2 separate regions of the Homo sapiens genome follow, and region 2 is linked to region 1. Evidence: promoter capture Hi-C in human tissues and cell types (Jung and others, 2019). All regions are on one chromosome and are shown on one strand. Each heading gives the region's core, a stretch centred on a gene start or on the middle of the fragment in contact. The rest is flanking DNA. Distances are from core to core; before and after follow the strand shown. Region 1 holds the start of ATP13A5 (ATPase 13A5). Region 2 overlaps ATP13A5 (ATPase 13A5).

Region 1 (6,223 bases), core at 1,182-3,681:
TCTTTTCTCTGTGCCCTCACATGGTAGAAGGGACAAGGGAGATCTCTAGGTTCTCTTTTCTTTTATTTATAAGAAAAACAGGCTTTTGCTATGTTAACCAGACTGGTCTTGAACTTCTGGCCTCAAGAGATCTTCCCACCTTAGCCTCCCAAAGTGCTGGGATTACAGGCATGAGCCACCATGCCTGGCCAGGGGTCTCTTTTCTTTTTTTAATTTCCAACTTTTATTTTAAGTTCAGGGGTACATGCGCAGGATGTGCAGGTTTGATACTTAGGTAAAAGTGTGCCATAGTGGTTTGCCACACAGATTGACCCATCACCTAGGTGTTAAGCCCAGCATCCATTAGCTATTCTTCCTGATGCTCTCCCTTCTCCCATCTCCCACCTTCTGATAGGCCCCAGTATGTGTTGTTCCCCATCCGGCTTCCTTCTAAAAGGCTAGCAATTGCAAGATCAGTTCAGCAATTGCCTGGAGCTAAGTCACAGCTTCCACAGTTCGGTCACCCCAGCTCCCTCAGGCCTAGCGGAGTCTGTGGATTACCTGATCAACCAGAATAGGATTTGCATCTGTGCTCTACGCCCCAGAATTCTGAAAAAGAAATCTAGAGCCATCTCCCCTTCCCCACAATGAGTTAAGCTTACTTGGATTCCTAATAGACATTTCTGGTGAGTGTCTGTAAAAGGGTTTGATCACCTGCAAAAATGAAGAAAACTGGGGCACCTGGCTCATTATTTAATCCTATGATACCAATGTCCTGTTTGTGAGTGAGAGAATTAAAGTATCAGGCTATAAACTTTACAAATAAAGCAACTAGTTAGAGAAGAATAAAGAGCAATGTAATTTTTCATGCACTCTTATCTACATGTTGAAAACATCAGAGCTAACAGAATTGTTCAGCAGTGAACACAGGTGAATAGATTTTCATTCTTTAAAAGCTTTAATTCTGAAGATTTTAAAGTGCTGTGCTATTGTCAAGCTTAGCGTGCTACAATAATGCAAGCCACAAATATGAGCTGCCTTCTTAATATTAACGTTCCTAGCAGCCACATTAAAGATGTAAAGAGAAGCAGGTGAAATTTTTACCTAAGCTATCTAAAATATTGTCATTTCAATGTGTAAACAATATAAAAATTATTAATAAGATGTTTTACTTTTTTTTACTAAATTCTTCAAAATCTGGTGCGTATTTTACACATAAAGCATATTTTGTGTGGACTAGCTACTTTTCTAGTGCTCAGAAACTACACGTGGCCCATGGCTGCCTTATTGAACAACATAGATGTAGATGAAATCATATGTTTTCCTTAGAGTAGCAAACAGGGATAGGTGGAGGGAGAGCCGGTATGGATTTGCCCCAGATCTCACAGGGAACCAGGATGCCAGCCAGGAAACTGACATCATTCTAATCTACAAACCATGTTCTCCAAGTTCTTTGGGGCCCCCAAATGTGCCCTCACTCTGACCCTTCCCCTGTCTGTCTCTGTCTCCTTTCTTCATTGTCTAGCTGGAGCCACTGTTGTATGGTGAACAGCACAGGATGTGGAGAAGGAGTCGGCTGGATTCCCAGCCTGTCCCTTGCAGGCTAATGACCTTGGGCAAGTTATTTAACCTCCCTGGTCTCAGATTTCTTTTCAATTAAATAGGATTAGTTCTTTCATCACTGAGGTCTGAGGATTATATAAAATCATAAATATAAACACCTCAGCACCAAATAAACACTATAGTTTTCAACTTTTTAATTATTATTTTTAAATGTGTGTGTGTGTGTGTGTGTGTGTTTGATGAAAACAAGAGTGGGGAAAAAATTGGAGACATGAGAAATGTTTAAAATATGTGTTAAAAATCCCAGGCCACATTCTACTCCTTCTTTAGTAATTGATGCTTAAAACTTCTCTCTGCGCTTATAAAAAGCATGACTTCAGCCCAGAGCCCCCTAAGCCTAGGTTATGCATACATACCCAAAGCACGAGAATAAAAAAGAGTTCTTGTTTTCAATAGAGTTTGTTCCATCACATAGCAATCCAGATAATAAGGGGGAGACACCCCACTGAGCACCATGCGGGGCTCTGCAAATACTGTAAATGTGCGAGGAAACATCACAGGTTCATATGAAGATGGCAAGAATTCTATCATCCAGAGGTCACAAGTTTCTCAGCCCCTGCAGGTTTCCCCACAATAAAATGGTGCTTTGCAGCCCTTAAGGAACCTTACCAGACTGAAACCTTTCAAGGTCCTAAAGCCTGAAGCATAAATGCTACACTCTATTTTCTAATTCAGCTGTAGCCCATACTCACCGCCTTGGGCTCTTTGAGAAGACTAATAAAATAAAGGGAAGACTCACCAGTTCATCCTCCTCTCCCTGGTTGAGCAAAGCCCGATGGTCCTTCTTACTGTTCTCTTCCATCTGAACTCAACCGGCGAGGATCTCTTCTGGCTAACTCCTTGGAGAAATGTCAAAATCCCTTGGGCTTCTGTGAACTTGGAATCGTCACAACTTGTGATTGCTCTTCCCAGGCGCTTTTAAAATCTCTTAGTACACACCTTGCCTATTAGACTAACAAAGGAAAGAGAGAAAATCTTCTCAGGAACAGGATTGGTCTGTTAATCTGGTTATTGTGGGTTTTTTTCCTAGTGTTTGTTTATTGAGCTAGATATGAGTGCCTCAAGACCTGAGGAATGACGGGGGAAGAAGTTGGCAAACTAGAAGGAGAAATCATTTTGTATGCGATCCATAAATGTCTCAGCCAAGGAATGAGAATAGTCACTTTGCTAAAAACCTAAGATAAAAGGATTAGCCAGTGAGAGATGTATAAAAACCCTGCAGACTTTGAAAAAGTAATGAACATATTGGGGGTGACAATGAGAATTGAAGGAAGGGAGGTAGGCTCATGATAGAGAATGTAGGAATCATTTTGGAATTAGAAAAATCTGAGTTCTAATCCGTGCTTCACTGAAGACCCTGGACAAATCACTTAAAATCTGGAATTTCAGTTTCTAGTACATAAAATGTCAATAATAACTATACAGTAATATAAAGATTTAAGATGATAGTCATAAAAAGCCAACGATAGCACCCACCACAGTCACTAAGAGAGAAATAATCATCATCATAATCATTACACTAACCAAGAAGAAAGAGGCTTTAAAAAGTAAACTATATTAATAACTTGATTCTTTTCATTTTCTCTTTAGAGTTTACAAAAGTTTTCAAATGAGCAAAGTATGTGGAGGGAAGAGATGCTAGAAAGTCCGAGGATTAAGGATATAGCCCAAATTTCAACACCACTGAATTTGATATTTTGATTAGAAAATAGGTATACTGTGATCCATTCCAGAGTCAGTTAATTTGTTTGTGATGAAAACTTTTGTCATTTTATTGGCTCTTATTGTATCCTTGCACTTTGACTATGGAAGAAAATTTGCTGGGAATGAAAACTATTAGGGATGATACTTGGCTGTTTCTGCTGACTGAAATAGACACTGATTGCCTTGAGCAGGCATAAGTGTCCAACTTGGTGTTCAGGAGAGATCAACGTGCTCTCTGGCCAGGAGAAAGTGGCTGATGAGAATAAACAGGAAGACAACTAGAGCTCTTCATGCCAGAGGCTCCCGAGGTACCCATACTGAAGTATAATGTGCCGGTGTGAATGTTGCCTTGTAAGTAGTACCAATCTAAGGTAAAATGCATATTTGAAGAAAGGAGTTCTGGATTTTAGTAAAACTTCATTAAAGACACGAGTGGTGGCTATCATTCACTTCTTACCCATCCGCTATTTACTTGTATTTCTTGCTGAAAGAACCCCAACTTTGTGCAGCATGACTTCAGCTAAAAGCACCAAGATGAGTCAATGATTTGTCTATGGGTCGGCGTGTGGCCCAGTTCTAAACAATGAAATAGAAGAGAAAGACATGGTCTTGTGGGAAAGGTTATCTTGTTGATGAAACAGAGAGAAGAACATTTTTTTCTGTCTTCCCCTTTCTGCCTTTCTTTGAAAGTGATCCATGAAAATGCAATGCTTGGAGCATGGTAGCCATCTTTAGGTGGTGAGGAGGATGCAAATCACCATGAAAATTACGGTGAGAAAAGGACAAAAGAAGTTATATGCCTATAACACCACTGATTCATGGACCTACCTACCCCTAAACACCACATTAAATACACAATTAAACATTCTCATAAAGCCACTCTTGCTTGGGTTTTCTGTTACATATAGTCCAAAGATATACATAGCACTGGTCTTGACTCCATTCCACTTTTACTCAACAATTATGTACTGGAAAACAGATGTTCCAGACATTGTGCTAGGCCCTCGAATACAATGGTGTAAAGGAAAGAGCCCCTATCCTGAGAGAGTTTATAGTTACTTGGGAATGACAGATAACTAAGCAGCCTCTTAATTGGGAAATATACTAAACTCAGATTTAATGGAATACAAACAGGTTCCCAAAGGAAGTGACATTTATTCTGACATCTCAAAGATAAGCAGAAGTTAACAGATAGAAAGAATGGGGGATAGTGGCATCTGGTGAGCACAGTCTAGGCTGGGAGCAGAAGGTGTGGAAAGGGTCAAGCGAGGTGGGAAAGGAGCACCTATTCGGGGCATTAAGGGGAATAAAAGTAAGACTTGAGACTAGAAAGATGGGAAGTGATGAGTAATAATTATGATGGAGATGCAAACAAAGGTGTGCTCAAGAAGAGCTTGTCAACCATGGCGAGCTGGACTCTTGTCTGTCCACCGGCCAAGACCCAAGGCCTCAGCTCCTTCCCACTGAGGAACCAACACTCTTTGCCCTGTACAAGTACAAAATACCCACTTCAAATTAAAGTCTTTGAATAATCCCAATGCTCATAAATGTCTTGGAGGCACTGAGCTTCCAGGTCCCAGAGATGTGAATGCTGACATTGGGCCCATTTACCATATGATGGATTCATCAGGGCAAAGTTTGTATTAGATAATCTCGAGGGTCTTTAAGTACTGAGCATTGCTTTAGCCACCAGAGGACAAGCTCTGTGAAGAAAGTAATCACATGGCATTAAACCCTGCCTCCTGGAAGGTCTGCAACAGACATTATAGCTTATAGGACCTAATGCCAGACCCCCATAAGCAACGTGAAGATCCAGTCATGCCTCAATGGCTTAGCCAGTCCCTTGTAGGCACATGGGTGGAAGAGTCACCTTTTATGTTTATACACGTGCTGGAGGGTTGAGGGCATCTCTTCTGGGAGAAGCAGCCTCAGGAATGGTGGCAGTGGCCTCTTCCGGATCACACTAGTATTTCTAGCCATAGAGTTCAGGAGGTCATAACTTAAGCTGGAATTCTTTAGATCTTTTCCATCTGAAGAGGTCAGATTCCCTGTTGCCTATGACTAGAAGCAAAACTGCATCCTGATGAACCACAAAGGCAAACTCTGTCCTAATAAGAAGGAAGCTGTCAGCACCATACAGCATAAGAGCAGGGGCCTTCAGAGACAAGAAGGGAGGGAAGAGACCAATGAAAGACTCAGAAAGGAACAAAGAGTAAAATGTCCACTTCACACAGGGGCCTGAAGAACTGATCATCCCTCAAGAAGCAAAGTCATAGACTGCTGAACAGCTTTCCTATCAGAGTGAAGCCAGAGGAAGTAAATGACTGAGAGAGTGTTTCATCTTCTTCCACAATCCCTGACCTGGAACACAATTTCCAGAAAACAAAAAGATGGGCAAATTTTGCTTAAAGAGGCACAGTGAGATAACAGCAGATCCAGGGCTCAAGCCCGGTTCCCTGCCTCACAGTCCAGCGTATTTCCACCAAGAAAGGCTACCTGCTCTGCTGCTGTATTTTCTCTAGAACTCTGCTCTGAATGCTAGAGAGGTGAGGGACATGGGGATGACATGGATTAGGGAGAGAGGGCGTGTCACCACCTCTAGTCCACGAGGCTTATTCGACGAAGACACAATGGACGTGGTGAGGTTGGTTAGAACCATACCTCACCCTCCTATTTGGCAGAGACAAGATTCTCATCCCCTATTTTCCCATGAAGTAAGGGGGAAACTTATCCAGAGTTGGATGTCTTCTCTAGATTTTCAAGCTCTCTTGATATTTTTCTCCACCCATTAAATGGAGTCCTACTGGAACATTCTATCTTGGAGATCCAGGCTCCTTCCATCTGTGGCTCCACGATTTTCAACACGTGGCTTCCAAGGCTGCCTTGATTATATAAAAGGGGGACTTCATGGAGGATA
Region 2 (3,991 bases), core at 7-2,506, 63 kb before region 1:
TGCTCATTTACTGTGAGCCTTGAGGCACCGCACAGATCCTGGCTGGGAGGGGTAGTCATTAGACAAAGAGGATGAGATACGGTCCCTACCTTCAAAGCTTCTGGTCCTGTCGGGGCAGCTGCACATGTTTTTAGGTAAGGGACTACAGGGTAACAAATTCGACAACAGAACATTTTTCCCTGTCTCTGATACATGAACTCACTCAGCTCACACATCTTGTTCTTATGCCTAGGATACAATCAACTTGCCAGGCCCCTAGAAACAAATACATACCTGTAATCATCACAGTCCTGATACGGGCCTCACTCAGTTCCTTCAAGACCAGTTTGGTTTCTTTTTTCAAGCGATTCTCCATGATGAGAAGTCCCAGAAATGTTAACTCTGACTCCACTTTTTCTCTTTGTATTCAGGAGAAAATCAATATTAAAGTATATCTACGTAGGCTCCATAGTTCAATTTATTTCTTCTTTTAAAAATTTATAAGTTTTATTAATGCAATACAGGCACATTTTAAAAATCAAAATGAACTTAAAAGCTTATAATGAAAACCAGTAGTCTGTCTCCACACCACCTCACCCCTCTCCTTCCTAGAGGCAACCACTTCTAAATCTGTTTTTTCCAGTTTCCAACTTTATTTTTAAAAACAATGTGCTTATCTTCCAACTCTTCTGTTGGTTTTTAAATATGTTAATCAAATATACTTTATTTTTTAATTTCTCAGTGCTTTGTCTTTTTTGAGCTTGCAATCGTTTCAGTTTATTTGGCATTTATTAAGGGCATTCTGCATACATACAAGACACGATAGTAGTAGTTGAATACAGTGTCATTCATCTTAGTTTCCATCTGTCGCCTTGAATAATATTTACTGGCATCAGACAGGGCTCTGAACAGTTTTCGGAATTTGAAAGTGATGGCTTATAGTCCAACTGGGTTGCATTAGTTATGTAGGAACGTTCCTCTGAAATGGAATCACTCTTGGGTGGCTTTTTAAAAAGTAAATTTGGGGGCCAAGAACTCTTTTTTGATCTTTGTTCATTTTGCTGTGCACCGTGGTGTTAAGATTACAGGGAGATAGATCTGAACAATATGCATGCAGCTGTGAAGCCATTACCATAATCCAGGTAATAAACATATCCATCACCTCAAAAAGTTTCCTTCTACCCTGTTTTATGTGTGTGTGTGTGTTAAAATCACTTCTCTAGAATGTATTCATCTTGCATAACTGAAACTTTATATCCATTAACAACAACTTCCTATTTCCCCCTCCCCCTAGCCCTTGGTAATCACAATTCTAGTCTCTACTCTCTACTTCTATGAATATGTCTATTTCAGATGCTTCAGATAAGTAGGATCACACAGTATTAGGCCTTCTGTGACTGGTTTATTTCACTTAGCATGATGTCTTTCAGTTTCATTCATGTTGTCTCATATGGCAAGATTTTCTCCTTTTCTAAGGCTTAATAATATTCCATTATATGTACATATTACATTTTTAAAATCCATTCATCCAATGATGAACATTTAGGTTGTTTCCATATCTTGACTATTATAAATAATGCTGCAATGAACATAAAGGTGAAGATACCTTTTTTTGAGATCCCAATGTCAGTTCTTTTGGATATATACTCAGAAGTGGGATTTTGGACCATTGGATCACCTGGTGATCCAATGTTTTAAAAAATTAAAAACATTCTATTTTTAATTTTTTAAAGAACCTCCACATTGTTTTCCATAGCAGCTGTACCATTTTACAAAGGTTCTAATTTCTCTATATCCTTGTCAACTTGTTCTTTTGTTTTTGTTTCAAATAGCCATCCTTACAGGTATGAGGTGGTATTTCATTGTGGTTTTGATTTGCATTTCCCTAATGACTAGTAAAGTTGAGCACTTTTTCATATATCTGTTGGTCATTTGTACGTCTTTGGAGAAATGTCTATTCAGGGCCTTTGTTCATTTTTAAATTGGATTATTTATTGATTTTTCCTATTGAATTGTGTCCTCTGTACATTTTGGATGTTAATGTCTTATCAGATATATGGTTTGCAGAGATTTTCTGCCATTTTATAGGTTGCTATTTCACTCTGTTATTTCCTTTGCTGTGCAAAACTTTTCAGTTTAATATCCACCAGCAAAAGAATGAAATTGGACCCTTATCTTATACCATACGTAAAAATCAACTCAAAATGGATTAAACACTTAAACATAAGACCTGAAACCGTGAAACTACTAGAGGAAAACATAGGGAGAAATCTTCTTGATATTGGTCTTGGCAATGATTTCATGGCTATGACACATAAAGCACAGGCAACAAAAGCAAAAACAGGCAAATGTTCTTTGTTTCTATTTTATGATGCTTCTTCTCGTTCACTACTTTAGGCACTTGGCTGCTTGTTACCCTACAACACTCCCAGCAGTGCTTGTGTCAAAGCTTTTGTACCCACCATTTCTATTCCCTGCAATGCTCTTCCTCTGGATATCTGCGTGTCTTTCTCTCTTATTTTATTAAATGTCTGTTAAAATGTTGCTCCTCTGAGGACTTTGCTGATTGCCTAGGCAAAATGACATTCTCTGTCTTTTTTAAAAAGTCCTCTTAACTTACTTTATATTTTCCCCCTCAGGTCATTTAAGAACCACTAGTGGGATAATATTTTATGGGTTTATTTTCTAATCTATTTCCCCAACTAGGATATATTCATGAGGACAAGGATTTTATTTTATTCACTTCCAAATAAGTTCTCAATTCCTTGAGCGTCTGACATACAGTTAAGTTCAATACAGATTTGCTAAACTGGTGAAGGGGTGAGCCTTGATGGAGTATTTATCCTGCTGTTTTAGTTTGGGGTGACTTTTTACGTCATCTCAAAAAACTTTTCTACTTCCCCATTATGACTCCAATTTTTAAGAAGTTTTAAATTTTTCTAGTTGGAAAACTTTGCTAAATAGAATTTGATTCTAAGAAAAACCAAAACCCTATCCTTTTACCCTGTTTGAAAATAGTAACTAAATTCTAAGAAGTATAATAAGTTCCTGATATTCCCCAAAAAAACCTGGAATGGTTGGAAATATAGCACATTTTATCTTCATTTTCTTATTTTGTTATATTTATAATGTCTATCCCACTAGTGGCTCTTACATGAGAACAACACAGCTGCGTTTGTATGTGACAGCTGGATGATGGCTACACTCCATCACTAGCTACATAGATCTTTTCTTCACACATGTCCTTAACGTTGATTATTCAAATTTGTGTTTAGAAAATTACAAATCCTATGTGGTCTGGACCTTTATGTTTGCTCAAGAATAGCTAACACCTGGAATGTTAAATCTGAGAATGACATTCATATATTTCAAAATAAGCTTTGTGATCCTGTTTCAAGTATTAAAATGTCATGGCTGAAGGCCTTCTTGGAGATCATCCAATTGCATATTTTATAGATGGTGAAACAAGCACAGAGTAAGGAAGGGACTGTGTTTACTAATTAACTTAGAGTCAATGGACTTAGGTTGCAAATAATAATGTTAAACCAAGGATATCACTATTTTACATGAAGGAGCTAGCTGTATATAAATTAGCATTTATCAGCAACACAAATCCAATGTAAGAAATAAATAGATTTTCTGCTATTCAGTTTTCCACAGTATTTTTTTACTCCTTTGTCATAGATAATTTGAAAATAGCCTTTAAAAACTGAAGAACGTTGAAAGAAATAATAATTTATAAATTATCCTCTAATGAGGACAACTTATCCCTGTAATGTAATTAAGAATACTGAATTTTATTTCTCATAAGTAATTCAATTTGCCCTTGTTACCTTCACAGATACGAAGGAGATGTTGTAGTATTGAGCACTGAAAAAACCACGTCTAAAGTATTCTCAAAATCTTTCAAAGTGCCAACTGTCTCCCTCTCTCAACCTCTCTGTGTATGGGCCACCCAAGTTGATTGGTCACATAATGCTCTGAGGTTGAAGGAGCGTTGGTTGTTTTGATG

Evidence for each region. The method cuts DNA at HindIII sites, captures the fragments that hold promoters and counts their contacts. A contact is called where the count stands out against the background at its distance.
Region 2: a fragment that was not itself captured here is called in contact with the fragment with the promoter of ATP13A5 in region 1 in 1 of the 25 tissues and cell types used here (heart right ventricle).

Annotation. Positions count from the first base shown.
Region 1 is chr3:193,376,322-193,382,544 of GRCh38, forward strand. ATP13A5 (ATPase 13A5) reads right to left here and starts at 2,432. Exons shown (of 30, transcript NM_198505.4): 1 at 2,342-2,432. The coding sequence starts at 2,404. The HindIII fragment of the contact is 10,323 bases long and covers 1-6,223 here.
Region 2 is chr3:193,314,699-193,318,689 of GRCh38, forward strand. ATP13A5 (ATPase 13A5) reads right to left here. Exons shown (of 30, transcript NM_198505.4): 18 at 274-398. Among named protein-coding and RNA genes, the nearest start is that of ATP13A5-AS1, 9.4 kb to the left of the region's middle. The HindIII fragment of the contact is 3,272 bases long and covers 1-2,892 here.